Linked DNA regions of Homo sapiens: regions 2, 3, 4, 5, 6 and 7 are each linked to region 1. The links are contacts of gene promoters, found by promoter capture Hi-C in blood cells and fetal thymus (Javierre and others, 2016). All regions are on one chromosome and are shown on one strand. Each heading gives the region's core, a stretch centred on a gene start or on the middle of the fragment in contact. The rest is flanking DNA. Distances are from core to core; before and after follow the strand shown. Region 1 holds the start of SKOR1 (SKI family transcriptional corepressor 1). Region 2 has its middle 3.9 kb from the start of CLN6. Region 3 overlaps IQCH (IQ motif containing H). Region 4 overlaps PIAS1 (protein inhibitor of activated STAT 1). Region 5 overlaps IQCH (IQ motif containing H). Region 6 overlaps PIAS1 (protein inhibitor of activated STAT 1). Region 7 overlaps PIAS1 (protein inhibitor of activated STAT 1).

The links. Contacts are between HindIII fragments. The CHiCAGO score rates a contact against its expected background, and 5 or more counts as called.
Region 2: a contact is called between a fragment that was not itself captured here and the fragment with the promoter of SKOR1 in region 1, in 1 of 17 cell types (neutrophils). The highest score is 7.8, in neutrophils.
Region 3: a contact is called between a fragment that was not itself captured here and the fragment with the promoter of SKOR1 in region 1, in 7 of 17 cell types (total CD8 T cells, naive CD4 T cells, naive CD8 T cells and 4 more). The highest score is 6.4, in total CD8 T cells.
Region 4: a fragment that was not itself captured here is called in contact with the fragment with the promoter of SKOR1 in region 1 in 4 of 17 cell types (erythroblasts, neutrophils, megakaryocytes and 1 more); the score reaches 6.8 in erythroblasts.
Region 5: a fragment that was not itself captured here is called in contact with the fragment with the promoter of SKOR1 in region 1 in 9 of 17 cell types (naive CD4 T cells, naive CD8 T cells, total CD4 T cells and 6 more); the score reaches 9.6 in naive CD4 T cells.
Region 6: a contact is called between a fragment that was not itself captured here and the fragment with the promoter of SKOR1 in region 1, in 1 of 17 cell types (megakaryocytes). The highest score is 5.7, in megakaryocytes.
Region 7: a contact is called between a fragment that was not itself captured here and the fragment with the promoter of SKOR1 in region 1, in 2 of 17 cell types (megakaryocytes and erythroblasts). The highest score is 6.7, in megakaryocytes.

What each region holds. Positions count from the first base shown.
Region 1 is chr15:67,824,143-67,826,939 of GRCh38, reverse strand. SKOR1 (SKI family transcriptional corepressor 1) reads right to left here and starts at 1,431. Exons shown (of 9, transcript NM_001365915.1): 1 at 1,231-1,431; 2 at 1-1,004. The coding sequence starts at 1,337. LOC124903570 reads right to left here. Exons shown (of 4, transcript XM_047433429.1): 3 at 1,538-2,301; 4 at 1,356-1,427. The coding sequence ends at 1,356. RefSeq lists an enhancer at 1-163. The HindIII fragment of the contact is 26,599 bases long and covers 1-2,797 here.
Region 2 is chr15:68,232,233-68,235,029 of GRCh38, reverse strand. It overlaps a transcript of CLN6 not described here. Among named protein-coding and RNA genes, the nearest start is that of CLN6, 3.9 kb to the right of the region's middle. The HindIII fragment of the contact is 4,684 bases long and covers 1-2,797 here.
Region 3 is chr15:67,429,684-67,432,480 of GRCh38, reverse strand. All of the region lies in intron 16 of IQCH (IQ motif containing H), which reads right to left. It overlaps IQCH-AS1 (IQCH antisense RNA 1), which reads left to right. Exons shown (of 6, transcript NR_040052.1): 4 at 2,081-2,160. Among named protein-coding and RNA genes, the nearest start is that of C15orf61, 90 kb to the left of the region's middle. The HindIII fragment of the contact is 1,368 bases long and covers 675-2,042 here.
Region 4 is chr15:68,190,250-68,193,046 of GRCh38, reverse strand. PIAS1 (protein inhibitor of activated STAT 1) reads right to left here. Exons shown (of 14, transcript NM_016166.3): 14 at 1-2,797. It overlaps CALML4 (calmodulin like 4), which reads left to right. Exons shown (of 5, transcript NM_033429.3): 5 at 1-2,342. Among named protein-coding and RNA genes, the nearest start is that of CALML4, 14 kb to the left of the region's middle. The HindIII fragment of the contact is 932 bases long and covers 997-1,928 here.
Region 5 is chr15:67,471,268-67,474,064 of GRCh38, reverse strand. All of the region lies in intron 17 of IQCH (IQ motif containing H), which reads right to left. The region is part of intron 2 of IQCH-AS1 (IQCH antisense RNA 1); the gene reads left to right. Among named protein-coding and RNA genes, the nearest start is that of C15orf61, 48 kb to the left of the region's middle. The HindIII fragment of the contact is 4,188 bases long and covers 1-2,797 here.
Region 6 is chr15:68,170,995-68,173,791 of GRCh38, reverse strand. It overlaps PIAS1 (protein inhibitor of activated STAT 1), which reads right to left. Exons shown (of 14, transcript NM_016166.3): 9 at 1-60. Among named protein-coding and RNA genes, the nearest start is that of CALML4, 33 kb to the left of the region's middle. The HindIII fragment of the contact is 2,600 bases long and covers 116-2,715 here.
Region 7 is chr15:68,136,432-68,139,228 of GRCh38, reverse strand. The region is part of intron 2 of PIAS1 (protein inhibitor of activated STAT 1); the gene reads right to left. Among named protein-coding and RNA genes, the nearest start is that of CALML4, 68 kb to the left of the region's middle. The HindIII fragment of the contact is 785 bases long and covers 1,048-1,832 here.

The DNA.
Region 1 (2,797 bases), core at 182-2,681:
TTCGTACGCCGGCGCCGCCACCGGGCCCTCCTGGGCCCGCCGGGCCACTAGCTCCAGTCGCCAGGCCAAGTCCGCGCTGCGGGTGGGGTGGAGGTGGCCCCGGAGGCCCGGCAGCCTCATCTTCGCCACAGCGCAGGCTTTTGTGGGGCGGCGGGCCTGGGGCCATCTCTGCACCGCACCCTGGGCCACCGCCGCCACCGCCGCCAGCACCACCCTTCCCCTGCCCACCCGACCCGCCATTGGCACCGCCTCCGCCGCCTCCTTGTAGGGAGAAGGTCCGCTTGCGCGTGCCGCCATTAAACATGGCCTTGACGTCCTCCCAAGCATGGCTCAGTTCGTCTGTGGCCGACTTGTCACTGAGTTTGAGGTGACGACGCCAGGAGTTGAAGTTGGCGGCATCGGGCTGCGTGTACTTGGCGTCGGGTGTTCGGTGCGAGTGGAAGATGAACTTGTTGGGCGAGAAGTACATGCTGCAGTAGCCGCACTTGATGCACTTGGCACGAGAGCTGTTGTAACGCGCAGGGATGAAGCTACCACGCGAGCCCCACGCGCACTCGTGCACCACATCGAAGGCGAAGTTCTCGGGCAGCTTGGGTGGTTTGTGCTCGCCCAGGAACGACTTGCACAGGCGTTCGGCCTCTCGCTTAGTGATCATGCCGCAGCGGCGCGACGAGATGGGCATGGCCCCGGCCCGACGCAGAATCTCCAGCTGTACCGGCGTGCACTGCACGCACGTGATGCCCAGGGCCACGCGGCGGTTGTGGATCTCATTATAGCTGTAGTTCTTGAGGAGGGTGTTGGAGATCTGCGCCAGGCATAGGCGCTCCTGGCCGTCGATGACCAGCGACACAATGGGCACCCCGTACAGCGACGTCTCGCCCACCTGGTTGGGTTTGAGAGCGCTGGAGCCCGAGTACGGCTGCAGCTCCTGCTTGGAGTTGGGCGAGGAACTGCCCTCGCGCCCCGGCCCCAGCTGAGTGGTGAGAGCCTCCATGCCGCCGCTCCTGCGAAATAGAGAAAGCAGAGAGCAGATGAGCCATTTTCAGCGCCGCCGCCGAGGCTCGGGCCCGCCCAGCAGGGCGCTCCGAGTTGGGCGCGCGGGGGATACTTGGCAGTGGGGAGTCCAAACTCATTCACCCCCTGGACAGGCGTCTTTTGTTACTCAGACCCATGTTGGCGCCGTTAACAACAGCCCCCGGGGCTTGGGGGAGGAGAAGGGGTAAAGGAGACCTCAGGAATGCCCGGGCTGCAAGGAACCCAATCCCGTTTTCGGATTGGGAAGGAAGTGAAACCCAGATACGCAGAGTGACTTGCCCAAGGCCACACAGCAAAGCCATTGCCAAATCCTGGCTTTTTCAGCGCCCAGATCCGTGCGCCTTCGGCAACCCTCGCAGCCGGTGCTGCCGGCCCGGGTCCTGAAGCCCGGACTTCGGGGATCGGCCGCCCCTCTGCTCAGTCGCGCATGCACGCGGGCGGGCGGGGGCAGTGCAAGGAGGGGTGGGGAGGGGGGAGGGGCGGTCACTGCCCATCTCCAGACAGCAGGGGGTAGAGGGGGGTGAAGAGAAGGAGGGGGGTGAGGAGAAGGAGGAGGGAACCGTGTCTGCCAGGGAAGGAGAGAGGCGGAGGCTACCGCTGTTCGCGGTGCTGAACCTGACCCTCTCCAAAGCGCTCGGTGCGCACCCGGACCTAGCGCGGCCCCCACCGCACCCAGCTTGGTGCCCGAGCCGGCTTCAGGGGACAACATTGCCAGTTTCCACAAACCCGAGCTTCTCCTCTCACGGCTGGCGCCCGCGTTCGTTGAGCAGAAAGATTTCGGCTGGATATATAAACCGTTTTCTTTCCAGCTATTAGTGAGACCAGGATCCTGCAGTTCTAACCACATTTTCTGCATTTTTAGCTGTATTCCAGACCAAAGCTGGTTTCCACCGAGGTCAACGTGTGGGACAGAGAGGTTCTCAAGGAACTTTGTTGGGATCCACTTCTTAGCTTCCAGTCGCCCACTCCTTGAGCTTTCCTCCTTCAGATATACGTTTCCCACTCGGGCCAACTGCAGGATTCGGGGCTCTGGGCTTCCTCTTTGAGGGGCATCACCTCTCTGAGTATCCTTCATGCCTCGCTGTCCCGGCTCATATGGGCTAGAAGGAATCTCAGCCATCTTCGTAGCCATTGCAAGGCTCCAGGCACACAAGTTGCTGCTGGTCCTTGCACTTTGCTTTCTGGCTGAGGCAGGGAGGGAGCTGTGCAGGCAGACCTCAGCAGCGGGGGTACTTGGGGACTGATGTTTGGGGCCCTCTAGGTCGCCTGACCCAGCCACATGTCCTCAGACAAGCCAGGCTCCCATCCGGCCCAAGGCTGCAGGCGCTCCTGCGGCCAGGGCAGCCCAACCCTGAGGGCTCCTCCCCTGCAGTCGGCCCTGAATGTAACTCCGTTTTCAGAGGGGCAGCTCCAGACAGGGGATCCCAGTTCAAAAGCCTTCAGCAAGGAGACTGGAATCTTCTGTTTATCTGTCTCTCTCCCTTCTTCTCTATTTGTCTAGGAGACCCTCATTTGTCGATCTTATCTGTCCCTGAGCTGTCTCTGCCGGCTCGTTCCTCTTTCTCTCATCTGTTTTGTACCTTCTTCAAGTATCAAGCTATTTATGTATTATCTGTCTGTTTCATCTTTATCTCCGAGGATCGAACTAAAATAAGTTGACCCTTATTTCGCGTTGAAGTCCTTTATATCATTGTAGGAGGCAAAAACACTGTCCTAACTCCCCGGCTGACAAGCCTCGCGCCCTCCTGGAGGTGGCTGGAGG
Region 2 (2,797 bases), core at 135-2,634, 410 kb before region 1:
TTTTGTTTTGTTTTAGACAGAATCTCACTCTGTCACCCAGGCTGGTGTGCAGTGGCACAATCTTGGCTCACTGCAACTTCCGTCTCCCGGGTTCAAGCAATTCTCCTGCCTCAGCCTCCCGAGTAGCTGGGATTACAGGCACCTGCCACCATGCCCAGCTAATTGTTGTATTTTTAGTAGAGACGGAGTTTCACTATGTTGGCCAGGCTGGTCTCAAACTCCCGACCTCAAATGATCTGCTCACCTTGGCCTCCCAAAGTGCTGGGATTACATGCGTGAGCCACCGCGCCCGGCCTTTGTCAACTGTTAAGAGTGAAAGAAATTATAAGGAAAAAGAAATGATAAGGAAAAGAGTGGAGGGCTCTGGGAGCCTCTCAGCTTCTCCTAGCTCTCAGCAGCAGACGGGAGGGGAACGGGCTAGCAGAGAGCAATTCAGCTCTGGGCTGTCATGGGGACAGCAGGCTTCTAGGCAGGGTCTGAATTTATAGCCACATGTAAAAGGCAGTGATCTCTTCCATTAATGGGTGGAAATAGAGCCCTATATTAGGGCTTTTGTTCAAGTTGCAAACTCAGGGCCGTGAACTATACACTTCTCCTTCCCTTGGCTGTCTGGTTAGAGAAGGAGCAGCCATATCGGTACACTGCCTGGCTCAGGGTGGGCACTGGCTCAAGCCATCCAATCAGAATCCCTCCGCGGGAATTTTGAATTGGGCCCAGAAGAGGCCACCCACATTCTGCTTATCTCTTGGATGGAAGAAAGATAAACTTGGGAGCTGCTGACTGAGGCCGTCGGCTGCTGTATTTCCTGGAAAGCCAGGAAAGCCAGTCTGCAGGGAGAAAGAGAGAAGGATGACATGGAAACAGTGTTGTGGGTGGTGCCTTCCTGGGCTCCCAAAGTCCCAGCACCATTCTCAGTTCCTGAGGCCCAACTGCATCCTTATGCTTAGGTTCCCTAAGACACCCCTAAATCCTTGTAATAGAAATCCCCTTTTGTCATCAACCTGTCCCCCGTTGCTTCTAGTAATCACAACCACAAGAATCTGAATTAAACACAACCTGGGGACCTTCTCTCTCCCCACAGTGTGACTTCTGGTCACCCTCCCAGCTTCTTCAGCCAGATGGGGAGTGTCCTGCAGGCAATACCAGTTGACACAGAAAGACAGTCTCCATCTTCCCCCAGTGCCCCAGTCCCTTGCTGTCTGTCCTTGTGCAGCCTTCTCACTGTGCACAGTCTTGTTGCCCACACTTAGAGATCCCCTAGTCAGGCCCCTCCTGGCTGCCTCTCTCCAAAGTAACTGAGTTTTCCTGGTCCCACTTCGTCTGTCTGCCTTCTGGAGTCCCAGCCTCTGGATCCAGGATTCTGTGTGTCATGTCTCTCAGATGGTAGCTGCAGTCTAGCAGGGGCCTTCAAAGCCTTCTGGTGGCAGGGCAGTGTGGGAAGATGTTTTGAAGAAAGAGAAATTTTCAAAAGCTCTTAAGAGACTGGATAGAAAGGGTACTGGATTAGGAGTGGAGACTGGATTCTGGCCTGGCTTGGCTTCTAACTCGCTGTGTGGCTTTAGGCTTCATTTTCCGCAGCTGCAGAATGATGAAATTAGGCAAGATCAAAGGCTTTCCAGGGAGCCCTTTGGAGGTGACTTGGCCACGGCCTTGTAACCATAAGGGGAGAAGAGATGGCACCTGGGACCCTGCTTCTCTTCACTCAGGGCACCACCCCCCCCACCCCCCCGTAGGTGTTTCATACATTGAGCATGCTGGAAAGATCTTTGTCTTAGCCCAGGTTTCCAAAGAAGCAGAGCAGGGCAGCATGTATGCTAACACTGTATTGGGGAGTGTGGTGGCTGGGAAGGGGAAGTGAGGACAAGGGGGAGTGAGACAGAGGAGAAGGGAGGGCACACAAGAGAGTGCACTGCGGAGCTGGCCACCACTCCGTCTGGAAGGATGCTAGACCTTACAGGACCTTCTTTATTATTTATTTATTTATTTTGAGACTGAGCCTTGCTCTGTCGCCCAGACTAGAGTGCAGTGGCGTGATCTCGGCTCACTGCAACCTCTGCCTCCTGGGTTCATGCAATTTCTCCTGCCTCAGCCTCCCAAGTAGCTGGGATTACAGGCACATGCCACGACACCCAGTTCGTTTTTGTATTTTTAGTAGAGACAGGGTTTCACCATGTTGGTCAGGCTGGTCTTGAACTCCTGACCTCACGTGGTCCACCCACCTTGGCCTCCCAACGTGCTGGGATTACAGGTGTGAGCCACTGCGCATGGCCCAGGACCTTCTTTAAAGTGGCTGTGTGAACTCGGAACTCAGGCCAGTCTGTCCAGAAAGAGGAAGAGAGAAAAATTTATTTGCTAATCCCTGTCTCTTGCTGGTCAAAGTTCACTCCATGGAGTGTCCAACACTCCTGCACTTCTGAGGCCAAGGGTGTGGGGCCAAGGGGAGAGGAGGTGCAGTTGACTTCTGCCTGGGTGAAGTCAGTTGTCACAGCAGCTGGACAAAACAAGTGGCAAGGAGCTGGAAGACTGGTGTGTCTAACGGATCTTAGGCGATACATTTAAAAGTATCTGATACAGGCCTGGTGCAGTGGCTCACGCCTGCAATCCCAGCACTTTGAGAGACTAAGGCGGGCAGATCACAAGGTCAGTAGATCAAGACCAGCCTGGCTAACATGGTGAAACCCCGTCTCTACTAAAAATATAAAAAATTAGCCAGGCGTGGTGGTGCATGCCTGTAGTCCCAGCTACTTGGGAGGGTGAGGCAGGAGAATCACTTGAACCAGGGAGGCAGAGGTTGCAG
Region 3 (2,797 bases), core at 109-2,608, 390 kb after region 1:
GCTCAGATTGGTCAAGTGAATTGTCTACAGTATCACACTAGTTAGTGGAAAGACTGGGGCCAGAACCCATTGCCATTGCAATGAAAATATTTTCAGATTTTTTTTTATTCTAGGCTGATATTCTGTATTTAGAAACTCTTAAAAATCGTTTTCAGACTTTATGGGATATACTGCGGTATATATCAGGGCCTCCATTTTCATCTTTCCTCACAATCTGTACTTTGTGACAAGTCTTATTTCCTTTCTGTAGCTAACTTTATGTTTTGGAAGGGCCATTACTACTCTCCAATAGCTAGTTTTCATATCAATTCTTCTTAAAGCTTGGATTTTCTTTAATTTCCTTTTTCAAAAAAAGTATTAACTATCAATGCTTATAATACAGATTGTTGTTTCAAAGTTCACAATTATCTAAAATAAGAGTTAATTTATTTATTTATTTTTGAGACAGGGTCTTGCTCTGTCATCCAGGCTGGAGTGCAGTGGCGAGATCCTAGCTTATTGCAGCCAGCCTCCAACTCCTGGGCTTAAGTGATCCTCCTGCCTCAGCCTCCCATGTAGGTAGGATTACAGATGTGTGCCACCATGCCCAACTAATTTTTTATTTTTAATTTTAGAGATGAGTCTTGATGCCCAGGCTAAAAGAACTTTTTTTCCTTTTTCCATCACCTGAAGCTTTTATTTGGTAAAAGCCAGATCACCATGCTCCTCAAGAAACAAGAGGCTACAATCTAAAAAACTATTGATATTGGTAGGAAATGTTCAACTAAATTCTATGATAATTAATGAACCTTATATCTATTCAATTTCCTGTGAAATATAAAGAACAATGTGTGTTTTTTTTTAACTTTTAAGTTCGGGGTACGTGTGCAGGTTTGCTACACAGGTAAACTTGTGCCATGGGGGTTTGTTGTACACATTATTTCATCACCCAGGTATTAAGCCTAGTACCCAGGAGTTATTTTTCCTGATTCTCTCCCTCCTCCCACCCTCCACCCTTTGATAGGCCTCAGTGCGTGGTGTTCCCCTCTATGTGTCCCTGTATTCTCATCATTTAGCTCCCACTTATAAGTGGGAACATGCAGTATTTGGTTTTCTGTTCCTGTGTTAGTTTACTAAGGATAATGACCTCCAGCTACATCCATGTCCCTGCAAATGCAGGACATGATCTTGTTCTGAAAGAATTTTTTAATTTGGGAATTTTCATATAGAGCATCTTTGCCAATCTATTTGTTTAGAGACTTTTATATGAGGAACAGGAATGGGAGAATTGCTATATAAATGTATATTTACTTGAGGTGAATCCAACATGATATTTGTAAGACTTAGATCATCATTTTTATCCATATGTGTTCTGTGCTTTTTCCCACCACTCTTTCCCACCAAGTGAGCCTGTTTCTCACTTGGAATACACTCTTTCTTACCCTCCTCATATCCTAATTTTCTTTCGGCTCAAATCCCACCTTCTCTGCAAAACCTTTCTTGATTGCTCCCAACAGAAGGGATCTTTCTCTTGTCTGAATGCATGTAGAAAAATCATTTGGCCGTTAAACTGATATTACCTTTTTGATGTCTCTTTTATTGTTCTACGTAGTTGTCACTTAAGCCTTTCCTTGCTACTCATTTTTCAAGCCTATCTTCCCAACTAGAATGTGAACTCCCTAAGGGCAGGCACTTCCATGTCTTTTGCATCTTTGTAGCTTCTCTAGCACCTAGCATTATGGCTTATACATAATAGATGCTCAATAAACACTTGTTTTTTTTAGAGTTTCCCCAAAGTGAGTAATTAACTACAAAAGATCTGGATCATCTAGAAGTTCCAAAAGTCCATAAATCAACAAATAATAATCAGGTGGCTGGCCAAATATGACCATCATTGTGTTAGACATTATGAAGAGGTAAAAAAAATTCAAGGCCTAGTACATTTTCTAAAGGATTAAAAAAATCTCATGGAGGCAATATTTATACCTATGAATCAATACAAGTATAAAACAATTGTGTGCATGTATAGCAAATAAAATGGGACGATGGATATGAAATAAGCTTTGTCATGATACAGAAGATGTCTTGTTTATTTCCACAGCACCTAACAGGAAGCCAGAGTAGGTCCTCTGAAGGTGTTTGTTCAATGAACTTGTCATCCTCCTCAACTTAAAGCCTTTAGTAAGTACTTCATATCCCTCCTAGAACCTACTAGATACTGTTTATCATTGATCCTGGCTCCAGGACCCATCAGGATTTGGAAATAGCTTTTGCTGCTATTTGTTTACTGCTTGGATCCCCTTACATAATATTATCCTTATGTGGGAAGGCCAGATCTCCAACATGGCTGCCTTGTAGCTCTGTGTATTCTGGAGTGCCATGTACTCTGCGTGCCATCTCTGAAGGCCTAGAATTTCCCCATTTCTAGGGTACCAAAATCCTGGACCTAAATCCACTGGCAGGAGTAATCTTAGACCATGCTCCACCATCTCCATTTCCCAGGGACCAGCCCCTTCTTCCTTGATTACAAAATGACCGTGTGTTCTACTTGATGCTTCCAATATTTAAGTCTTACATTTCCACAACTTCTTCTATTCTGCTAGAACCTCATTCTCATCTCCTTAGGTCTAGAAAGAATTCTCCACTTTCTTTTCTGGAGTTGATTCACAATTGTGGGACTGTCCTTGAGGCATTGCTGTCATTTTATCTATTTTGCCTTGGCCCCCAGTCCCCTTTGCCCCTCCTGCGTCAGCATGGTAAATTATGGGGCCCAGCTGGGGCCAATGGGCATGAATTTGAAATGGATGCAGTCACCTCA
Region 4 (2,797 bases), core at 213-2,712, 370 kb before region 1:
CAGTAGTAGGAGCACTAGGCTTTCTGGGAGTCCATCCAGCTGGAGTGGCTTTGAGTGAGTTACACAGCTAGAAGGTGCCAGGTTGGTGCTGCCAGAGATTCAGAGGTGCCATACACTTGTCAAATCTGGATCATTCGTAGTGCCAGCACAGTCCTAAAAGGGCTGGAGTACCACACCAACACAGGTAGGGGTGCAGGGCTTCAAGTACAAAGATTTGCATCCATGTATGTATCAAAAGTGGGTTCTCTGGGCTGTGGCTTTGTCTAGTAGTACCACAGTGGCTAAAGTAGAAGAAAACCAAATCAAATGGGATGTGTCTTTTGGGAGGATGTACAAGACACAAATCTTTCACTAGGCACCGGGCACAGGGAAAACTGCAGGGAACAAGAGTTGTAGTGTTAGTGCAACTGTCTCAACGATGCTGTGTGGCTTCAGACCCAAACAAGGCCCTGAGGAAGGAGACTCTCATTTCCCCAAGCATAACTGCAAGGAGAGGAGGAATTCCTAGGAGCCAAAGAGTTTTGTGGGGTGAGGGTAAATAAATGGCCCAAATGCCAACTAGGTGAAGTTGTGACCATCTGGCTGGGAAGCCCAGGTCCACACAGTGTAGGAGCAGATGTTTTGTGGGGTCTGAGGTTTACGAGATTTGGCTGCCTTAAGAATACAAAAACAGAAATGCAGAATTTCTGGGGCTGCTCCTAGGACCAGAACAAGTGAAGGGTCCTGGTGCTTAAACTTCATTACCTTCATGGTAAATCCACCAGAGGGCCGGTTAGATGCTGGCCCCGCCGAGAGAACTGCTGTCACTTTCAGGCAAAGCTCAAAGGTCCTAGGCCCACAGTTCTTTTGAGCTCCAGTCATGGACATTAGGAAGTAAATCCTGCACAGCCAACCTGGAATACCAAAGATTAGATGGGAGATAGATACCAATGATTTAGATGGCACAGGAAGAGCAAGTTCTGGATATAATAAATGAGGGTACTTTCCGTCAAAGCTTTTCTATGTCTATATTTATCACTGAATAGTCCCAGTATGGTTTTAAAGCAAGTTTTATGAATCTCATTTGCCTAACAGGAATCTGAAATATAACTTGCCAAAAACACACAGTTGGTGTGGAATGGTCATTAGAACCTGGGGCTCCTCTTCACGGACTCCCTGCTCATTAAGGGATTCAGTGGTCCAGAGTCTAAGATCCTATTAAGTGTTTGATTCAAACCTCTACCCGAGGAAGGGCTGTTACCTTACTCCTGGTCCTGGTTTCAAGCTCATTCCTGAAATTCCAGCTGGTTTCTCTAGCACCTAGTGTTGTTTACAAGAAGGCCACGGTGCTCTTAGCATTCAAACTGCAGATACTAAACAGATGCTGTGATTTATTAAAGAGTTAGCCATATTTCAACAAGAAAGGGAAATGATGGCTATATTCATTACTTACCTCAAAGCATGCTGCAAGAAAATTAGTTAGTTACTTGTCATGCTTTGAAATCTCTGGATGAAAGGTGCTTTGGAAGCACAAACCATTATCACTTGTCTCATAGGGATTGTCCCCTTGAACATCCAGCAGTGTTATTTTACAGAAGACAAATTAACTGAAGGCTTTTCTTTTATTACATCTAAAGAGCTCTACATAAACAGGTAACATTCAATAGGTAAACAATTTTTTTCCAATGCATGTAATAAATATTTTCACTTGGTACTTTTATACAAACTGACATTGTCTACTATACATTTTTAAAAGCCATTTTACTGGTTTGGCATGCGGTATGGAAATTCTAAGAGAGAAAGTTTTAAGGCAATGAATCACAGATTTAAGTTCATGGAATTTATGGTAACTTTATCTGTTTATGTACATTTTCCCCTTTGTTAAACAATTAACAGCAGCACACTCTGGGACCACCAGCTATTTTCCCTCTCTTTCTGAAATCTAAGCTTTGTATTTAATTAAAAAACAGAATTCAACATCTATTGATAAAACAAAATTCTTACTAAAATAATTTCAAATGTGCTTTAAAAAGTCCTGAAGATCTTGAAAGTTTTATGTGTTTAAAATTGAAATTGTCTAAAAAAATGCTCTTTCCACATTAATTTAGTTAGGATATATTTTCACTCCATTTCAGACACTTGACTCAAAGGAAAATCTGCCAAAGAATCCGATTTTTCAGAGCTTACGTGAATCTTTCCTCAGTAAAGATACAGAATTGTGATCATGTCTAAATAATTAGTAAAGCAATTTTAATGCTCAAAATAGTCAACCAAGTATGGCATGGTTCTGGTTCAGATTTTTTTTTTTTAAGATGTATCCAATAACACTCACGAAGTAATTAAAAGCCACTTTAACCCTGCTAGTCAAATAGCTATTTTATCAAAGATGTGTGCATACAGATGTATATATATATACACACACACACACACAGTACTGTACAGAAACAAACATATGCATACCTACTATGAACGGCCAAGGCAAGGGGGATGATGGCAACTTGACTAGATTCTGAGAACTGCTATTTGTCCACAGATAGCATGTCAATGTTGGGATGGGTTGGGGAGTGAGCGTAGGCTAAGAAAAAAAGAGATGAAGTGACTATGTGCTTTTCTTTAAACTTAGTAGTTACAGACATAGTACAGGACTCTACTAATAATTAGTAGAGATCATGAAAGTCTGATTGATATTGACCATGAGACCAACAGAGTGACAACTATTACTTAATGCAACATTTTGGAAAGTCAACAACTGATGGAAACAAACTCCTCACAGGGTAGAACGAACTAAAATTAAGACAACTGAATGGTTAGTTTCTCC
Region 5 (2,797 bases), core at 121-2,620, 350 kb after region 1:
GATTTCGTGGCACTTTTGGTGACATGCTCCCCTCACACATGATGGGGGGAGCATGTTTTTCTTCAACATTTACATCAAGTCCTGTGTCCGAAGGTCACATCATCAGTGCCACCAGTTAAGGCTGCTCATCCTAAATGCAAGTGGAGTCCACATCTACAGACGAGTTAGGCCCCCACAGGCTAATACATCTTGAGTTGTTTACCCCACTTGTAGCGTCCCATTTGTAGCCATTGGGATTTTTCTAACAACAGAAAATTGATTTGATCCTCATATGCCTCACTACTGTACTCTGTCACCCTGACCTATCATGAGTTGTTCCCTTGGTCATCTGCCCTCCATGACTGGGAGTTTTCTGAGGGCAGGCGCTGTTTGGTTTCTGAATCTCCAGTTTGGGCATGATACCAGCACAGAACAGGCACTTGGTGTTTATTAAATAAAAGAGAATGAATACATGAAATAGATTAGGTGGATAGCTCTTCCCTCTGACTTAAGAGACTCTTCAAAGTATGTAATTTAAGAAAGACACTGCCCATTGATAAATGCTTTGGAGCAAAAGCAGGTGATTATTACATGGCACAGGGGACAGTCACACCATCCTTAGAGAAGGACAACTCAGGGCAGTTGCTCCGGGCCTTGCCTGCTGGAGGACAGCATGGCTCTGGTGGACTAAGCAGGAATAATTGGTGGGGTAAAAAGAACTGGCTTGGAGAAGTTCTGGCCCAGCTAGCTAGTCTGTCTGGAAGGGCATGGCCACAAGGCCTGCTCGCCCTGCCATACTGGGCTGGCCATGCTCTCACCTTCACACTGAAAAGCCCAGAAGCATGGGCTTTTGCACATGGAAGTGAACTGTAAACACTCTCAAATTCCATTGTGGTTACTGAGCATGTAATTGCATGGTAATTGCCATGAATTCACAAGATAATTCCAAGGTTATTTTTGTCTTCTAAACTTGTCTGATGCTGCCATAGTATATAAACAAGAAAAACCAAGACCAGACCCCAGCCAGCAAGAGAGGTAGGCAGGCAGGCATGTGGTAGCACAATCTAGCAATACTATGTATCTTGGCTCCAAAGCACAGCAGAAGAGCTTACTGTCCAGTAGTACATGATTACTAGACAACATGTAAGGGCAGGCTACCCTGAGGTTTCTTCTTCACTACAGATGCAGAGTGCAACTCCCCTTCCTCCCAGACTGGGGTTTGTGATGCATAAAGAATCTGAAGGAAGAGCCAGGATATTTGGTACATGTCTCCCAACCTTCTTTTCCATAACCATCACCATCCTAGTCCAGACCTTTATTGCCTGGAGAGTCAGAGGTGAGGATACAAGCAGAATTCTGCAGTGGAAAGGTTATATGGAGTGAGAAAGAAGTTCAGAACCTGACAAGGCCACTTACTGTGTATGTGATCTTGAACAGATCATTGAAATTCTGTCTTCTGATGATTAAATAAGCACCTACTGCAGTGCCTGGAACCTGATAAATGGTAGCTACTATTTTTGTTGTCATTCCTTTGAAAGGATTTTGGATCTACAATAAATGTAACTTCCCAGGCTGTTTTTTCCCCTACTCTTCCCCCATCTCCTGGGATTCTGAACAGTATCACCGGATTAATCATTTCCCCCTAACACAGGTTGGTCTGTGTCATCCTCCTATTCAGAAATATTCAGGCCTTTTTGCCTTCACGGTGAAATCTAGACCCTGGTGTGGTGGGTAGACCTCCCCAAACTTGCTCAGTGCACCCTTCCAACTACTTCTCCTGCTTCCCACTTCCCCAGTTCTGTGCTCCAGTCTGACTGGTTCACTGCCTTTTCCTAGCAGACCACAGGTTTCTTTGGACTCTGTCCCATCTGCTAGGGGACGTCCTCCCCTCCTCGCCAGTTAGTGACTGTTCTAGTCTTTAAGGCAGGATAAAGTTCTGTGTTTTCATTAAAGTGTTCCCTGTCCCTGTCAGTCCATGGTCATTTCCCCTGAGAACTCTGGCAGCAAGCTGAGGGTCTGTCACTCAAATGGCATTTATCCATGTGTATGTTATCTATTTTAATAGCAACATCTCTCTCTCTCTATGGCCTTTCTTTTCAGCTCCTCAAGGATAGGGACTTTGTCAATTATCTTTGTCTCCTGATGCTTGGTGAAAGTCCTGGCACATATTAAGTGCTAAATAAATGCATTAGAATAATACTTACAAGATACAACTACTTTTTAGAAGACCTAGCCAACTGCACAGTTTCTACAGGAAGAAACTATCAATCACCTAGGATTGTCTTATGTCCAGCCTGATAGCACAAGTGAATAGCATAGGAGTATTGAGAGGAGGATTAGATGAGAATGTAAAGACCTTGGAATAGTGTCTGGCACACAGTAAGCTCTCAATAAATGTTAGCAATTATTTTCACATATTAAACTAAATAGTTTCAAAGATAAGGTCAATTATTTCAAATTAAAACTGACCAACTAACCAATAAACCTTTTCATCAGAAGGTGACTTGAATCAGAAGACCTGGGCTTTGCTATGTACCACCTTTATGACTTGGGCAGCTCACTTAACTTTGCTTAGCCTCAGTTTCCTATTCTGTAAAATGTATATAATAATCCTTAACATCGATTTCTTGGGGTTATCATGGGGATCAAATAAGCTCATGTATAGTTAAAGTATAAAGCATTATACAAATAGAAAACATTATTTTCTATTAAAAGGTTGACTTGTAAAAACTAGTCTCTTCTGATGCTGTACAATTTATGTAGGTTTGATAAGGATCAAAAAAGAAATAATGATTTGGAAATATCTATTGAAATTAAA
Region 6 (2,797 bases), core at 166-2,665, 350 kb before region 1:
ACATTGTAGATGAGAACATGTAAGGGCCCGACACGGAATTGTCAGCCGCATTTTACCAAGCTTTAAAAAGGGAGAAAAAGTAAATATTAGATAATTGCTATTCAACATTTAAGCTTTGACAAAAATTTCCTAGAACACAACAGGTAGGCATGCTGATTTAAAGCATACAGTGTTGACTTTTCATCAATGTAGAAGAACATTAAACACATTTCCTGTGAAATATCCATAGGTTAAAAAATGACAGTATTTCTTTGGCTATCAAACAAAATGACTATGGAAAGTCTACAACAAGGGTTATTTACTAAAATCCACAGCTCACAGATCAGCTTTTGGTGGAGAGGGTCATAAACCCCTTGAATTACATTCAAAATTTCGTGTGTGCATTTTTCTGGAGAGAGTGCTTTCACCAGTTTTTTTTTTTTAAACAGATGGGGTCTTGCTATATTGCCCAGGCTGAAGTGCCAACTCTTATTCACAGGCACAATCGTAGCACACTACAGCCTCAAACTCCTGGGCTCAAGCAATCCTCCTGCCTCAGCCTCCAGAGTAGCTGGGGATACAGGCGCACACCACTGTGCCCGGCTTTTCTCAAATTCTTAAAGCAGTCCTTGATCCAAAAAAAATTTAAGAACCACCTTACTAGGGATTAGGGAAAATAAAGAATGCCCTATTAAATACTGCACAATACAGAGATGCATTGATATTTGCTATCAGTCTTATCTATGAATGAAAGTAGTTCACAGGACAAAACTGAATCAATAGTGATCATTCCCCATGATGTTTGGCATAATTGCCAAGTGGCAGCTCTGAGGAGGAAGGCAGGTGCACACACTCTGCATTGCTTCCTCACTGGGAACCATCACGAGCAATTCAGCCTACAGCCCTGGACCTCTAGCATCTCCAGCATGTCAGGAGACTTCTTGCCCTGCAAATATTGCTTCAGCTAACACGGGTTGAGTCTATCCAGGAAGAGGAAATCTGCTTCATCTGGTCCCTGAGCTGCTAGCTTTAGCCCAAGGCAGAAAAGCCACGCAGAAACCTGCACAGGGAGGTACCACATCACTATCTCATTCCCTGGAAGCCAGCTTGTACCACTGTAGAGTCCCCAGATCCCACAATGGCCACCATATAGCAGAGAAGTTATCTACTTTCAATAACCACATTATTTGCCAAGTACCAGGAAAAGATTTGTGAACTTGAAAAATATAAACGCTTGTGCTGGAGAGGATGTGGAGAAATAGGAATGCTTTTACACTGTTGGTGGGACTGTAAACTAGTTCACCATTGTGGAACACAGTGTGGCAATTCCTCAAGGATCTGGAACTAGAAATACCATTTGACCCAGCAATCCCATTACTGGGTATATACCCAAAGGATTATTATAAATCATGCTACTTATAAAGACACACTGGACACGTATGTTTATTGCAGCACTATTCACAATAGCAAAGACTTGGAACCACCCCAAATGTCCATCAATGATAGACTGAATTAAGAAAATGTGGCACATATATACCATGGAATACTATGCAGCCATAAAAAAGGATGAGTTCATGTCCTTTGCAGGGACATGGATGAAGCTGGAAACCATCATTCTGAGCAAAGTATCACAAGGACAGAAAACCAAACATCACATGTTCTCACTCATAGGTGGGAACTGAACAATGAGAACACTTGGACACAGGGCGGGGAACATCACACACCAGGGCCTGTCTTGGGGTGGGGGGCTGGGGGAGGGATAGCATTAGGAAAAATACCTAATGTAAATGATGAGTTAACGGGTGCAGCAAACCAATATGGCACATGTATACCTGCACGTTGTGCACATGTACCATAGAACTTAAAGTATTTTATATATATATAAAACATATAAAAGAAAAAAATATATATGAAAGAAAAATATAAAGGCTTGAAAAGAATATGAGTTAAATGAGGAAAAGATTCTTGGCTTACTTAGATCAATTTCAGGGAAATGTGAAATTTCCTAGTCTACCAGGAAATTAACTGTCATTTGGGGCCCAAAATAATTGCTTTGATACCGATGATTTACTGTGTCTCTAAGAAAGGCATTTAGCCTTTCTGGGCCTCTTTTACTTTCTCTAAATTAACACTATTTCCTCCTTACTTCAACCAGATGTAGCCATGATGAATAAAAATAGAACACTGAACATGCTATAAACTTACTGAGACTAGAGCAATGCCAGTTTACAGTATCAGAAGTATAACCTGGAGGGACCTAGAGTAAAAACTGGTAACTCCCTTCTGTGTACTCCCAACTCTACACTCCTGCATATGATTACAATCAAGCACCACATAACATTTTGGTCAACACTGAACCGCATATACGATAGAGGTCTTCAAATTAAGACAGCCATGTTACTGGTTTCTGTATTTACTATACTTTTTATCATTATTTTGGAGTGTACTCCCTTTACTTATATATATTTTAAAAGTTAACTGTAAAACAGCCTCAGGCAGGTCCTTCAGGAGGTATTCCAGAAGAAGGCACTGTTACCATAAGAGAGAACAGCTCCATGTCTGTTACTGCCACTGAAGACGTTCCAGTGGGAAAAGATGTGGAGGTGGAAAGTAGTGATACTGATGATCCGGACCCTGTGCAGGCCTAGGCTAATGTGTGTTTGTGTCTTTGTTTTTAACAAAAAAGTTTAAAAAGTAGAAAATAAAAGTAAAAAATGTTAAAAATAGAAAAAAGCTTATAGAATAAGGATATAAAGAAAGAAAATATTTTTGTACAGCTGTACAATGTGCTTGTGTTTTAAGCTAAGTGTTGTTATTA
Region 7 (2,797 bases), core at 191-2,690, 310 kb before region 1:
GAAAGGGACAAGATTACACAGACCTGGATTCCAAACCGGTTTTGCCACTTACGTGCCATGTGACCTTGGGTATTCATTCACTCTGAGTCTTTCTTCCAATATTTAAACACAGAAACATACACGCTCTGTTAGGATTATTTTGAAGAATGTAAATGAGTAACATATTGAAAACAACCAATAATTTCCTTTTCTTCTCACTTTTCTCCTTACCACTATACTGAGTCAAAATATATGAGGCCGTAACTTCCACCCACTGATGCCACACAGCACTGAACTAATCTCACCATCCAGTGACAGCCATTCTTCAAATATTTGAAGAGACTTAATATGCCCCTCCCTTTCCAATGACTCTTCCCACTGTATTTTAGTAAAGATTTCAGAATTACTCACTGTCCAAATCTTCCTCCTCCAGACGTACCCCAGGTTGTTACACCCTTATTAAAGTGACAGAACTGGCTGGGCATGGTGGCTCACGCCTGTAATCCCAGCACTTTGGGAGACTGAGGCGGGCAGATCATCTGAGGTCAGGAGTTCAAGACCAGCCAGGCCAACATGGTGAAACCCTGTCTCTACCAAAAATACAAACATTAGCCAGGTGTGGTGGCATGCGCCTGTAATCCCAGCTACCTGGGAGGCTGAGGCAGGAGAATAGTTTGAACCTGGGAGGCAGAGGTTGCAGTGAGCCGAGATCGCCGCACTGCACTCCAGCCTGGGCAACAAGAGTGAAACTCCGTCTCATTCATTCATTCATAAATAAATAAATAAAGTGACAGAACTGGACAGCACTGTCACAGCACATATCATTTGTTCAAAATATGTGTTGCCCTTCTGTATTGGCCTATCCCAATGGGAGGATAATGTTCAGGGCCATGGACATTACCCTTGGTCAATGAAATAGGAGTGGTAGTGTACCACTTTCAAGCAGTTCAAGAGGCACCTAAGGCTTTACTGTCTTTGTTTCCCCTCTGCCTTGATCCCAGAGCAAACAAAACATATAGCAGAGTCACAGTCTACAGCTAGTTAAATAACATAAGTGGGAAAGAAGCTTTATTTCTTTGGTTATTTTTTCTTTCTTTTTTAGAGACAGGGTCTTGCCCTGTTCCCACGCTAGAGTGCAGTGGCATGATCATAGCTCACTGCAGCCTCAAACTCCTGTGCTCAAGCAATCCTCCTGCCTCAGTCTCTACAGTAGCTGGCACTACAATAGTGGGTGCCACCATGCCCGACTAATTTTTTTTATTTTTTATTTTGTAGAGATGAGGTATTGCTGTGTTGCCCAGGCTGAACTGGAATGCCTGGCCTCAAGAATCCTCCCACCTTGGCCTCCCAAAGTCCTGGGATTACATGCCCAAATCTTCTTTAGTTGTTTCTAATAGTTGTTAGCCATTGAGATCTAAGGTTGCTTCTAAGTTGATTGATATATTCTTCCAGATGTGATGTCAGTAGAACACTACTTTCATTAACTACTTTCTAGTAGTTAATCCATACAATAATCATGAAGACAATGTTATCAGACCATTTTTCAGATGAAGAAATTGAGGTTCAGAGTAATTACTAACTTGTCAAGCCTTCAAATTTGTAAGTAGAAAACTCAGAACTGGAACTCAATCTGTACATCTCCTGCCTCCAAAGTCCGTGTTCCTCTCATAACATAGGTTTATTAGCTCTCTTGATCTCGGTGCTGTACTCCTACCAGTGCAGCCTTGCATTACACTGGATCACAGAAAATCGGAAAAGAATTACCTATTATCCTCTTATTGTAACTGCTTATGACTTTTATCTATTTCCTTCCAGTCATTCTCATATCAAACTATAGATACAATATGAAAGCTTGCTTTAAAAAAATTACCCTTATTACATTTTCAATTGCAGTCTCTATTACCATTTTTAATTACTGTATTCTCTCAGGGGACATATGAACATTTTAATTACTCCCCTGATTAGTCATTTAGGTTATTTCTAATTTTTCACTATTTGAAATAACTCTGTGGATATCTTTGGGCTTAAAGGTTTGTTTTTTGGAAGGGGGGCAGGTTATTATTTTATTTGGATCAATTCCCAGGTGTGAGATTTCAGGGTCAAAAAGTATGAAGATTTTTATGAATCCTGACACATCGCAAGAGTGCTTTTCAAATGGTTGTTTTACATATAAGACCATCAGCAATTTATGCATCTAGTGATTACACTCTGGCCAGCATGGGAGTTGCTGCTAATTTAATGAATGGATCCTGGTAACTCTTGAGAAGTTTAATTCACATCTAAAATATTTCCATGTTTTGTTATTTGCTGAATTTCCTATTTAACTAATTGTCCAGCCTTGTCCTATGCCTATTTATGTATTTGCATAAGGGTTTCATATACAAGAATATTAAAACCCTGGAAATTTGCTACAAATATTTCCTCCAGTCTGCTACAATTTTTTAAATTTCATTTGGGCTATATTTTTAGATGATATAAAAGATTTTTATGTGGTCCAATCTGTCAACAATCTCCTTTTAAATTCTTCTGCTAATTCTGAACTTAGCTGTTCCTTTGCATAAATTCAATAAATACACAATTAATTTTTTGGCTTATTGTTTCTATGTAATTATTTAATATATCTGGAATTTTAGTTCATATTTTAAAAATCTAAATTTCAGCTCTTTCCACGGTCTCCCTCTGATGCCGAGCCGAAGCTGGACTGTACTGCTGCCATCTCGGCTCACTGCAACCTCCCTGCCTGATTCTCCTGCCTCAGCCTGCCGAGTGCCTGTAGCGCGCCACCACGCCTGACTGGTTTTCTTACTTTTTTGGTGGA